Regions from separate parts of the Homo sapiens genome. Here region 1 is linked to region 2. The links are contacts of gene promoters, found by promoter capture Hi-C in blood cells and fetal thymus (Javierre and others, 2016). All regions are on one chromosome and are shown on one strand. Each heading gives the region's core, a stretch centred on a gene start or on the middle of the fragment in contact. The rest is flanking DNA. Distances are from core to core; before and after follow the strand shown.

What was found. Contacts are between HindIII fragments. The CHiCAGO score rates a contact against its expected background, and 5 or more counts as called.
Region 1: a contact is called between a fragment that was not itself captured here and the fragment with the promoter of SLC9A2 in region 2, in 1 of 17 cell types (total CD8 T cells). The highest score is 5.6, in total CD8 T cells.

The regions. Positions count from the first base shown.
Region 1 is chr2:102,008,879-102,014,957 of GRCh38, forward strand. IL1R2 (interleukin 1 receptor type 2) reads left to right here. Exons shown (of 9, transcript NM_004633.4): 3 at 684-948. Among named protein-coding and RNA genes, the nearest start is that of IL1R2, 20 kb to the left of the region's middle. The HindIII fragment of the contact is 5,709 bases long and covers 1-5,256 here.
Region 2 is chr2:102,617,466-102,624,433 of GRCh38, forward strand. It overlaps SLC9A2 (solute carrier family 9 member A2), which reads left to right and starts at 2,088. Exons shown (of 12, transcript NM_003048.6): 1 at 2,088-2,672. The coding sequence starts at 2,384. RefSeq lists a silencer at 1,696-1,805. The HindIII fragment of the contact is 5,203 bases long and covers 1-3,227 here.

The DNA of each region.
Region 1 (6,079 bases), core at 1,152-3,651, 610 kb before region 2:
GTAGTTGGGCGTGGTGGTGCGTGCCTGTAGACCTGGCTACTTGGGAGGCTGAGGTGAGAGGAGTGCTTGAACCCAGGGAGGTTGAGGCTGCAGTGAGTGGAGATTGCATCACTCCACTCCAGCAGGGCAACAGAGTGAGACCCTGTCTCAAAAAAATAAAAAAGGAAAAATTAAAAAAAAGAAAAAAGAAAAGAAAAGGAAAGAATGGTGCGAATGTGCTTGTCAAAGAGCAAACTGAAGAAGTGACGTGTTTGCCCTTAACAAAGTTGCCTTTGGAGTTTAACCATACGACGTGCCAGAACTAAACTTTTACCATCTAAACTCAGCTCAGATTTACTTTTAATGATGAGAAATCAGCCAGTGAAAACTATGGCCATAGTTTTTAATCTTTAATTTTTTGTCACCGTAGAAACCTGATTTAACTTTCTTCACAAAACATAAGTTGGAATGGATAGTAGCACTGAACTTGTTATTTGGAAATTTTGAAAGTATAATAACGGGGTAGGGAGGGAGTTTAATAGTACCCCAGGGTGTAGGTCTTTTTGTTAGGGACAAATGACATCTTTCTCAAATGTGCTCCAGGTTTCCCTGCCAGAATCAGGATCAGTCCCAGGTGCAGGGAGGTTTTATGATCTGAGCAAGTTTTGGACCCAAAGCCTGACCATGGGCTCTCTGTCCTTCAGGGGCTGCCAGAAGCTGCCGGTTTCGTGGGAGGCATTACAAGCGGGAGTTCAGGCTGGAAGGGGAGCCTGTAGCCCTGAGGTGCCCCCAGGTGCCCTACTGGTTGTGGGCCTCTGTCAGCCCCCGCATCAACCTGACATGGCATAAAAATGACTCTGCTAGGACGGTCCCAGGAGAAGAAGAGACACGGATGTGGGCCCAGGACGGTGCTCTGTGGCTTCTGCCAGCCTTGCAGGAGGACTCTGGCACCTACGTCTGCACTACTAGGTAAGTCTCCCTGTGCGGGGCTGGGGAGGGGATCCTGGCAGGATGGAGGCTTGTGAGGGTCTTCAGTCATGATCCGGATCTCAGAATCCAGTGTACAAAATACAAATCCAGTGAATCCACATTGCATCCCGTTTGCTGTTCCTGACACCCCCCCCAACCCTACAGTCTCATTCTGTCTCCATTTAGTCTTTGCTCAAATGCCACCTCTTTGGAGACAACGTCCCTAGCCATTTTAGCTGACACCGCCCTCTGTCACTCTCTCCTTACCCTGCTGTAGTTTCCTTGCGATAAGATTTTCCCATCTGACACATTTGTGTGCGCTACTGTATTTAATGTTTGTCTACCCATTAGAATGTAAACTCTGCAAGGGCAGGGACTTGGTCTATGTTGTTCACTGTTGAAGCCACATGGTAAGGAACCAAGAAATAGACATAGAATAGGATTTTACTCTGAATAGGATTTTAGAGCTGGGTGAGACCTTAGGATTAAATTAGTCCAACACTTTGGGCGGCCGAAGAGGGTGGATCACGAGGTCAGGAGATCACGACCATCCTGGCTAACACAGTGAAACCCCGTCTCTACTAAAAAAATACAAAAAAATTAGCTGGGCATGGTGGCGGGCGCCTGTAGTCCCAGCTACTCAGGAGGCTGAGGCAGGAGAATGGCGTGAACCCAGGAGATGGAGCTTGCAGTGAGCGGAGATCGAGCCACTGCGCTCCAGGCTGGGCGACTGAGCGAGACTCTGTCTAAAAAAAAAAAAAAAAAAAATTAGTCCAACTGCTCGTTGTAAGGATGAGGGAACCAAGCTGGCTTGGAAAGTTCCCCAGGTGGTGCGTGGTAGAGCTGACTCTGGAGCCCGAGTCTCCTGACCCTGGGTCCAGTCCTCCTCCCTCTTTGTCCTGTTGCTTTCTTCCCCTTTAACTGTAGAAAAAATACACATAACAAAAAATTTATCATCTTAAACAGTTTTTAGTGTACAGATCAGTGGCACCATCACCATTATCCATCTTTAGGAGTTTTTCATCCTCACAAACTGAAACTCTGAACCCATTAAACAATAACTCCCCTCTCTTCTTCCCTCCAGCCTCAGGCAACCACCACTGTACTTTCCGACTCTATGATTTTGACGACTCTAGGTACCTCGTTTAAATCGTTTAAGTGAAATCAGTCTTTCTGTGACTGAATTATTTCACTTAGCATAGTGTTTTCAAGGTTCGTTCATGTTGTAGCATGAGTCAGAGTTTCCTTCCTTTATGAGGTGGAATATTATTATTCCGTTTTATGTATGTACCACATTTTGTTTATCTATTTATCCATCCAGGGACACTTGACTTGCTTCCTCCTTTCAGCTATTGTGAATCCAATATGAACATGGATGTGAAGATATCTGTTCAAATCTCTGCTTTCAGTTCTTCTGGGTATAGACCCCAAAGAGGAACTGCTGGATCATCTGTTAATTCTATATTTAATTTTGAGGAACTATCATACTGTTTTCCATAGTGGCTGTACCATTTTTCATTCCCAACAACAGTGCCGACACTCAATTTCTCTACATACTCACCAACACATGTTATTTTCTATTATTTTTGATAATAATCATCCTAATGGGTGTGAAGGGGTCTCTCATTGTGGCTTTGATTTCCACGTTCCTAATGATTAGCGATGCTGAGCATCTTTTTGTGTGCTTATTAACCATCTGTGCATCTTCGCTGGAGACACAGACATATCTCCTTTATGGACTCTAAGTCCTTTGCCCATTTTAAAAACTGCATTTTGCTGTTGTTGTTGAGTTGTAGGAGTTCTTTACATTTCCTGGTTATTAACCCCTTGCCTTATCAGATATATAGTTAGAAATATTTTCTCCTGTTCTCTAAGTTGCATATTCATTCTGTTCATAGTGTCATTTGTTACACAAAAGGTTTTAATTTTGATCAAGTCCAGTTTATCTATTTTTTTCTTTTGTTGCCTGTGCTTTTAGTGTTAAGAAATCATTGCCCAATCCAATGTCATGAAGGTTTTCCCCTTTGTTTTCTTCTAAGAATTTTATAGTTTTAGCTCTTTTGCTTTTTGATCCATTTTGAGTTAATTTTTGTATATGGTGTTAGGTAAGGGTCCTGCTTCATTCTTTTGCATGTGGATATCCATTTTCTCCAGTACTATTTGCTGAAAAGACTGTCCTTTCCCCATTGAATGGTCTTGACATGTCCTACTCCTTCTTGATGGATGAAGTTTTAGGCCTAGTGTTGGTGATCTTAAAAAGTTTCTTGGCTTCGTTCTTCTGAACTAGGACAACCCTCAGCTTGATTGGGAACTAGTGTTTTGGCCTCTCTCTTCAGCTGCTTCATCTGTTCCTCCAATAAAAACTTCCTTGGCTTTGTTCTTCTGAACTAAGACAACCTTTGGCTTGATTGGGAACTAGTGTTTTGGCCTCTCTCTTCAGCTGCTTCTTCTGTTCCTCCAAAGGCACTGCTTGCTCCTTCCACCAGCTGGCTTCAGAGTCTCCAGATTTCATAAACTCATTTGACTTAAGAAGGACTGTACCCAGGAATATGTACATTTAGAAAAAGAACCGGAGAAGTGAGATTCTTAGCACAGTGGAAGTACTGGTGAATGGAAAAATTTCAGACCACGTCATCCCCAGTCCTAGGCTGGGTGTGTGTGTGGCAGGGTATGTGGGGGGTGGGAGGAGATATGAGGTAGAGGGTGCCCTCTGTGTGTGTGTGTGTGTGTGCATGTGCGTGCATGTGTGAAATTAAGAATCTTTTCAAATTAAACCCAGCTTGACACTACCATCCATATGTCTAGCCCCAACTATAAGCAATTTAGGGACAGGTTTAATCCTGTCAATGAACCTTGCCTAAGAAGCAGGCAAACCATCTTCTATTCTTATGCTAGGAAAATGTGGATGCCTGGTTTTACAATAGCTATAAATGCATATTTCTTCTTTCTTTTCCACAGTAAAAATTCTAATTTTCTCTAAGGAGTACTACTAGGAAAACTTCATAGCATAGTAAGAAAACATGAAACCTGAAGTCAGAAAGAAAGATGGGAATCTTAGCTCTCTCATTTCCTATCTGGTGGGACCTTGGGCTTATCACTTGACTTTTATGGGTGTTAGTTTTCCTGTAAAGAAGTTTGTTGAGAGGGTTATGTGAGATCACAGAATGTGAAGGAACTAGCGTGGGGTCTGCCATGGTAGGTGGTCAATATATACATAAAAATTCCCTCTCCTTCCCAAAAGGCAATCCTCATGACTACTGAAAGTGAGACTGTGCAAAAATCAGGGAGATGTGAGCTGAGTTCTGTTTGTCTTAAAGTTTGCTTTTATGATCAATTTTTGTAGGAAAAAAAAAGCTGAGATTGAGGGGGCAGTGGAAATCCCAGTGTATGTCAAACTTTCTTTGCATGATGGGAAGGTTTACCTGGCTGACCTTTAATACTCTTTGTCAACTGTAAGATTGGGATTCTAATTGAGTGAGAATCACCAGCAGTTGCCATAATACTCTTTAGCGTTGATAGTCATGAGGCAAGAGACTGCCCTGTTCTCATGATTGTTTAAGACCTTGTGATCTAGAACCACGTGGTGAGTCAGAGTAGGCAAGGATGCAAGCCATCAGAGAGGCCAAGATTTGAGCAGTAGCTGCCTGGGCCTCCTTGCTTGGTGCTCTGCAAATAAATGCCTTACTTTCTATCACTGCAAAAAAAAAAAAAAAAAAAAAAAAAAAAGGAAAGAAAGAAAAGAAAAGAAGGAAAAGAAAAAGAAAAAAAAAAAAAAAGAGAAAGAGTAGGCAGTCAAGGTTATGCTGCTGTAACAAATAGCTCCTAAATCTCAGTGGCTTAAAATAACAAGGGCTTATTTCTTACACATGCAACAGGTCCATTGTGGGTTTGCAGACAGTTAGGGACTTAGGCTGAAGGAGCAGTCACAGTCACTATTTCAAATGTTATTGGTTGGTTGCTAGAGCAGGAAGCCTGCTTTGGAGGGTCTCTCATGGCTGTTACAACTTTCATGTAGAAGGGCCACACATATAACTCATGAGCTAGGAAGAGTCCCCACAGTGGGGACGAGGACATGTGATACACCATGTGCTCAGAATAGGGAGAACTGGGCCTATTTGGTGAGCAGCACTACGAATGACTATCACGCCTTTGCCATGGGGGTGCCACACTACATGGGGAGTGCAAGTGGTGATCAAATTGCCCCTCACCCTTCTCTTTCTTTTGAGTTATTTTTATGAAGTTTCTTGCTCAAGGGGAATTACCAGATCAATAATGTGAACAGCCTTGTAACTTTCAATATGTCTACTAAGCTTGGTTTCTGAAGATAGTACTTATGGGTACTGAAGATAGATTTATGGGTTTTCCCAGAGCCTTGCTGGGCTTCCCATTTTGGTTTGACCTCTTTGTAGCTGTACAGCCCACTTAATTTCTGTACACCTACCTTTTTCATATAAAAATGATATAATAGTAATTCCTACTTCATGGGGGCTGGACTATAAGTGAAATAACGTGTGCAAAGTACACAGCACAGGGTCTGGCCTGCATCTACTCGCTGCTGGCTACCTGCTGTGTGACTGTTACTCAAGTAGGCCCAGGTCTTTAGATTTGTCCTCAGTTGCCTTTATTCAACATGTAGTGACATTACGCATTTTTCAAGGTGAGAGTTAACATTCTGTATTTCTTTATGCACAAAATATAATATTTGTTCATCTATTTTCCCTTTTTAAGCTAAATATAAACAGATATTGGCTTCATATATTTAAATTAATTCTTCTTACTTTCAAGTGGTAAGCTTTTATCACATTTCTTTCACCTTTTTTTTACATTTTGTTACTTGTTTGGATATGGATGGTTTAGATTTTGCTGTGCAAGTAATTTTTACCCCTATATGTAAAACTCGTCCTTATTGTCTCTGTCAAAGTCTCATGTGTTTTAGGTAGCCAGAAATTTAGCTGAGATAATTATATTTTTATATTTTTCTACTTAAAAGAGTAGTTTTAATTACTGTTTTCTGTCCTCCATCCATTTCCCACAAGTTTCCAGCAAGGTTTTCCTCTTCCCTTTTTCCAGCTCTAAGGTCTTGATAGAATTATGGCAGTGAAATAATGATTAGGCTAGTAAAATAATAATA
Region 2 (6,968 bases), core at 838-3,337:
CCACATAAGGTTTACAGGCAGTGAGGGCCCGGAAACAGATTTGTCATTCATTTTCTTGTTCATGATACACAATTATTCTTAAAAGTGTTGTGTGACAAACTCCTAGAAAGTATTGTCTAAATGTGCCCTCTCCCTATTACTATGTCACTAAGTTTGTAGAACTGCCTGATTCACTTACCAAAACTTTATCCTGCTGTAACTTTTTTGAACAATCCCTGTAATATTCTCCACTGCTTATTTTAAAGTAGCTGAGAATATAGCGTGCTGTTTATGGGCAACTAGTCATGGGGTAGAGGGTGAGATGATACCAGTGTTAGCCTGGGCAGGCCTGGGTGTGAATTCCATCCAGACACTTACTTAATATGTAAACTTGATTAAGTCTATTTGTTTATTTTTACACATTTCTACACTATATTTCTTCACTTATAAAATGGGTAAAAAATATCTGCCTCTTTGGATTTTTACGATTGACAAAAAAATGCAAGTAAAGTGCCTTGTATTGAGCTTCCCATGTAGAGACAGATACTCAAAAAATTTAAAAATCTCTTATTTGCTGCCTTTTCACAGGGGTATGTTAGGCACATACCTTTAATAAACGTTTCCAGTGAAAGGAGAAGGGGAGGCTGAGTTTTGGATGCCCAATGATTCTTCTCAAGATAATATCTTTAGTTTCAATTCTGTAGCGCTTTTGAAAAACTGATGCTTTGTGAAATATCAAATGAAGTAGTGCTCTGTAACATCTCCCAGAATTCTTCTCTCTTTTTAGCCTGGACTTGTCCCTCCATTACTTTGAAGACCCAAAGAGGACTGTTCCTTATTTTCTTCTATGCAGGTGGAGGATTTTTTTTTCTTGTACCCTCTGCTGACATCTCACTGATTTTCTATGTTAGAACTTTGAAAGAAAAAAAAAAAAAAAACGGCTTTGAAGGTCGAACTGCCTGGTGTTTGTTTAATAGTAGAAGCCACGTGTTTTGACACATCAAAGATTAAGAAAAGAGAAGGATTTTATTTCATAAATATCAAAGGGAAAACTTTCAGTTAATTGAATGGCAACTAGTCCCCTTTGTGCTCATTTCGGTTTCTGGCGATAAAGATGCTCAAACAGTGAGATCGCAACCAGTGAAGGAGGCGCTCTGAAGGACAGGAAAGGTTGGCTCTGCATGAGAAAGCCCTTTTAGATCCAGAAGAAGAATCACGCTTCCTTTCTTTTCCTGACCACAGCCTGTCCTGTAATTAGCGGAGCAAGTCAATCTGAGCGAGGCAAATCACTGGTTTTCCATGAAATAATTATATTTCTTATGCTCTTGGACATGTACACCTCTAAGCCTAAAAGCGGAGAAAGATGTTTTGGTTTTTTTTACGTGAGCTGGGGGAGGGAGAAGAAAAGTGGCAGCGACAGTGTAGCAAATGGGTGAAAGCAGCACAATGTGGCAAGAGGAGAGAACAGGATTCCGATTCCGTGGGGGCGTGGGAACACTGAGTTCCGCGCAGGGAGTTTCCCTGTTCAGAGCACCTTGTGCGCGAGTTGATAACTCTCGGAAAGGAAACAAAATTTGGCTTTCCTAAACTTTCTGTACGTCCAGAGAATCCCATGCCTTGTCTTGGCCTCCGCAGCGCCAGGCTGGGGTGACAGCACTCCTCCTCCACCGGCCCGGGCTTCTCCTCCGGACCGCGAGCCTGTGGCGCCTCCCCGCGCGCCCAGCGCACCGGGGTGTCCCCTTGGAGGAGCCTGCGGGGGCGGGGGAGGAGGGAAGGGCGCGACTCGTGGGTCGCGCTGGTTCCTTCACTGGATGGACGTCCGACGCTGCCTCCGGGGCGGAGACAGCTCCGGCCACCATGCGCCCGTTGCGGCGATTCCACCCACAGTTCGCTGGCTCTGGGGGTGGCGGGTCTTGGCGCGCGGTGCCTGCGCGAAGGGAGGGCAGCCATCGCCCCCGCGGTCACTGGGGCCCCGCGTTCCCCGCGGGCTCGGGCAGGTGCGCGGTGTGCCGGCCAGGTCCCCTTGTCCTCCTGCCCTGCGGCTTGGGCGCCGCGCCCGCCCCGCCCCCGCCCGCGGGCCGCCCTGGGCAGGGCCTGCCGCTGCGGCTGGAGAGCAGCGCACCGGCATGGGCAGGCGGCCGGCGGCGGAGGGCGGCTGAGGGCTGCTGAGGGTACGCGCAGCGGCCTCTCGTCGCCCTGCACGTGCCTCGCCAGGCAGTGCGCCTGCTCGCAGCGAGGACCTAGCCCTCTGGTTGCAGAGACCCGGTGCCGCAGCAGCGGCGGGTGGCTGTCGCTGCCCTGCCCTGCACGGGGCAGGGCGGAGCGGGCTGAGCAGCCCGGGCGCGATGCGTTGAGCGCTCGGAGGGCCAACCGCCGGTCCCCTTGGCGGCAACCGGCGGCACCCATGGAACCACTGGGCAACTGGAGGAGCCTGCGGGCGCCACTGCCTCCGATGCTGTTGCTGCTGCTCCTGCAGGTGGCGGGGCCCGTGGGCGCCCTGGCGGAGACCTTGCTGAACGCGCCGAGGGCCATGGGCACCAGTTCCAGCCCGCCTAGCCCTGCGAGCGTGGTGGCTCCCGGAACGACGCTGTTCGAGGAGAGCCGGCTGCCTGTGTTTACGCTGGATTACCCCCACGTGCAGATCCCCTTCGAGATCACCCTTTGGATCCTGCTGGCCTCCCTGGCCAAGATTGGTGAGCGAACTGGACTTGTGGGGAATGGGAGGGGGCGATCTCGGGGGGACACCTGGAGGGTGACCGGGTCAGCCAGCTGACCTCTAGATAGTGACCGCCTCATCTTGAATCAGGGCAGGGACGACAGATGGAGCAGCTTCTTCTGGTTGAAAAGGACCCTTGGAAGAGCAGTTTCGCGTTTTGGTTCTTAAGGGAACATTGGCCTTGAAATGGCCCCAAGTGTAAGTTCTACAAACTCAGCGATTGCTGCTTACTTCTGCCGCACGGAACGCCAAGTTTGTCAGCTCTCTGCTTAAGTTGAGTGAGATCTGTTTATTGAAGTGTACCAGTCTCACCTGCAGGGAGAGAGGTGCCGACGAACCCCGGAGCTATGCATAATGTGGTTAAAACCCTGGATGCTACAGGAGAGAGGCGCCTTGGCAGTGACACAGACCCTGCTGTGCGCCTGACTAATGAGGTGCATGGAAGGGGACCAGGGACACCTGAGTGCTTGCAGCTGCAATAGGAACGCCCTTTCTCCTCCCTCTATTGGGTTGAGGCTGTCACTCTCCAGGAAGCTTTTGCTTCGGGGTGGCTGAGGCCAGTGAGGTGAGATGCATATTTAAAAATAATTAACTCTGGGCCCAGGACAATGGCCCAGCCTGTAATCCCAGCACACTGGGAGGCCCAGACGTGAGGATCCCTTGAGGCCAGGAGTTCAAGATCATCATGGGCAACATAGCAAGACCAAACAGTACAAAAATAAAAAATTGGCCGGGCGAGGTGATTCACGCCTGTAATCCCAGCACTTTGGGAGGCTGAGGCAAGGTGGATCACGAGGATCACTGATCAACATGGTGAAACCTCGTCTCTACTAAAAATACAAAAAAATTAGCCGGGCGTGGTGGTGGGCGCCTGTAATCCCAGCTACTCGGGAGGCTGAGGGAGGGAATTGCTTGAACCCAGGAGGCGGAGGTTGCATTGAACCGAGATTGCCACTGCACTCCAGCCTGGGCAACAAAGCAAGACTCTGTCTCAAAAATTAATCAATCAATTAATTAATTAATTAGGTAGCCTGGTGTTGTGGTGCACATATGTATTCCCAGTTACTTGGAGGCTGAGGCGGGAGCCTGAGGGAGGAGGATCGCTTAAACTCAGGAGGTTGCGGTTGCAGTGAGCCATGAATGGCACCACTGCACTCCAGCCTGGGCCACAGAGAGATACCTTGTCTCAGGGAAAAAAAAAAAAAAAAAAAAATTACCCACTTTCATACTACCTTTAACTCTCATTTTGAAAGCAGAAACCTCAGAATATATTTTCTCATCTTCATTACCCACGCCCCAGAAACTTTCATGTTATGAGCATGGTGCTTTATATTATTTTTACTTTATATTTTAAAGACTTTAGAAAAATCCTGAAATATTAACTATTGTTATAATGATTCGATTAAGTTGTTAGGTCCAAAGAATGTATGCATTACATGTGTTTTACGTCTTTACCCTGTGAGATGAGGCAGATTTCCATAAAGAATGAAAAGACGCATTGTCTGCCATCCTCAGGGAGCTTACTGATGAGTGGAGAGACGTGTACACGCTGTGTGATTATTGCCCAGGACAGTGCTGAGTAGGGTGACAAACTCAGAAAAGATAGTATGCCATTGCAGGGAAGCAGAGAACACTTCCTCATGCAGAGCAAACATTTAAACTGGATTTTCCAGGATGACCAGGATCTGGTCAGTTAGAGAGAAAAGGGAGCAACATTCCAGAGAGGACTGAACAAAGACATAAATTGGGAGAGGAGTGCAAAGCAGGTAGAAGGGATGGTTTACAGGAGGGTGGAAGTTGTGGTAGGTAAACCGGAAGCAAATCTTCATGCCAGATAAGATTAATTAGAGTCTATTAGTGGTGACTAAGAGAGACACATATTATTTAACAACTCTGAAGTCTGTAATTGACTGGCTTTGACGTGGTGCTACTAGTTGAGTGTCTTAATTCCACTGAGAGATGGTATAAGGGAGATGGGCTTCCCCACCTATAAACCAGATACACACATGTTTGTAAATTGCCTCTAATAATAAACTCAGATGCCACAAGCCTGCCCTGTAGGGAGTGGCGGTATTAATACTCCCACTAGTTGAGGTGGAAACTCTGAGTGAATTTGCACCCAGAAGCACACAAAGTGGCGAGCCAAAATGAATGACCTGTTCCCTGTCACTCTCTCTGAGCCTCAAGGCTCCATCGCTGGAGGGCTGCTTCTGTGCCTGTTTCCATTACTGCTTCTCTGTTGCCATTTCTATTCCAACTATCTCCTTTGTTCATCATTCCTGATTGTTTTAATCAGATTAGTTACAATAATAACAGCCTCTAGGAGGCACTTAAGGGCATTATCTCTAATTTTTACAGTCACCATGCCGGGTAGGTGTTGTTTTCCTGGTTTCATATAGGAGAAAATGAAAAAATGGGGAGATTAACTTGGTGGTGGGTGGTGAGCCAGAATTCCAGCCAGGTCTGTCTCATTTCTCATCTTTGTGCGTTTCCAGAAGGCTTGTTCTTTTGGGAGGATTAAATGAGAATGAATGTGTAACATCTTTAGAATAAAGCTGGGCACACTGTAAGCACTCCATCACTCCATCCATACTATCATCATTAGTAGCAGTGAGGACAGTGGTATAGTCAAAGTAGTAGTAGTTAACTGTACAGTTTCTAGCACTACAGAACCTTTTCCACTGTTGACTGTCCTGGGCTGCCACCTGTCTCTCTTTACTTCCGCTTTGGCCTCAGCCTTCTACAAGTGTTCTTATTCTGTGGGCTGCCTTCCCGCACTTACTCTCTTGCTGTCCTGTTCCATTCATTTTATTGGACCATCTCACTTTCATTATGTGGTATTTTGTTAAAGGCATTCATGCTTGCTTGCATAACAGGTGTATTTGTCTCTCCACTAGCATCTTTTTAGCCCAGATATGTTTATATTTCCTGGGCCCCCTCTGTTCTAGTTGCCAGTTTCGGCTTTCCCCTGCATTGTGCTTGGCTATGGAAATCATCACATATTGCACCTCCTGTCCTCCCCCAAATTTGGAACGTCTCTGGCTACTACTTTACCTTTCCTTTCTGCATCTGAGTGTCACAGAGATGATAATTTCCATGCAGAGAGTGGTCTGAACAGCCAAATGGAGACTGCCATGGGTAGAGTGAAGGGTATATTTCTCAGGACAGAAAGTGGAGTTTTAGAGTCCAAAATGCTGGTGCCTGGGGTATTTTCTCCAGATTCGTCTGCATAGAGCCCAGCCTCGTCCTGCAGCTTCCCCTGTGTTCCTAGAGGAGCCAGGAAATGCCCAGAAATCCCCACCCCTCCTCTTGCTCCCAGGGTTCTGAACTTTCTGTTTGGTTTTAAGCAGGACCGTCCTGGTGCTGTGGGACACTTTCGTACCCCATTAAACAGTCATCTAGTCATTTCTCTTTCAACTTTTGTTCTGAAAAAGCTGTTTTGTGGTGGCTTATATGACTTAAGTTGCTCATATTTGGGAATGAAGAGGAATTGAGCTGTGCAGGTGGATATGATACTGTGGGGTAATGCAAATGCTAACCCCTGCAAAATGCCATGGTTTCTATTTGGGGCACTTTTGTGCCATTTGTGTAGTGTACCTGACCTTACCTGCCTCAGAGAACATGGAGAAACATTGCTAGTGATTAATCTAAACGTGGTTAAATTAACAGGCTGTCCAAAGTGGAGGATCCGAATAACATTTGTAGGGGGTTTAAATAATGCCTGATGGTGAATTCAGAATAGTTTTCTAATATAATATATATTACATTATATATTATCAGCTAATATAATCTTAGAAATATTACAATCAGAAGTGAGAAAATCCATTTTTGGCAAAGCATTGAATGATTCAGCTTAGCTCTTAATTGTTACACTTGATTATCAGGGAAAATCAACATCCTAATTACTTGGTCCAGAAAAAGTAGTTTTGTAATTATAACATTTACCAAAACAATGATGATAATGATGGTGATGATGGTAAAGATGATGATGAGTATGTGCTTATGAAGTAGGTCAAAATATTTTTTTAAAGCACAGCAAATTTAGTACACCTCGGAAAAGCTTTAAAAGTTTTGGCAAGAAATGTTTCCTCATTTGTTTCTTACTTAGGTCCTTGCACATGTGAATTCACATTATTCTTTCACTTTGAATATTTATATTTTGAGCAACCGTTGATTATTTTTATAGTTATAAGTACACACTTTGCTTGATAAATCTTGTATAGAGAGATGGGGTTCTACGACCTGGAATAATGGGTAGCCAAAGAATTGAGAT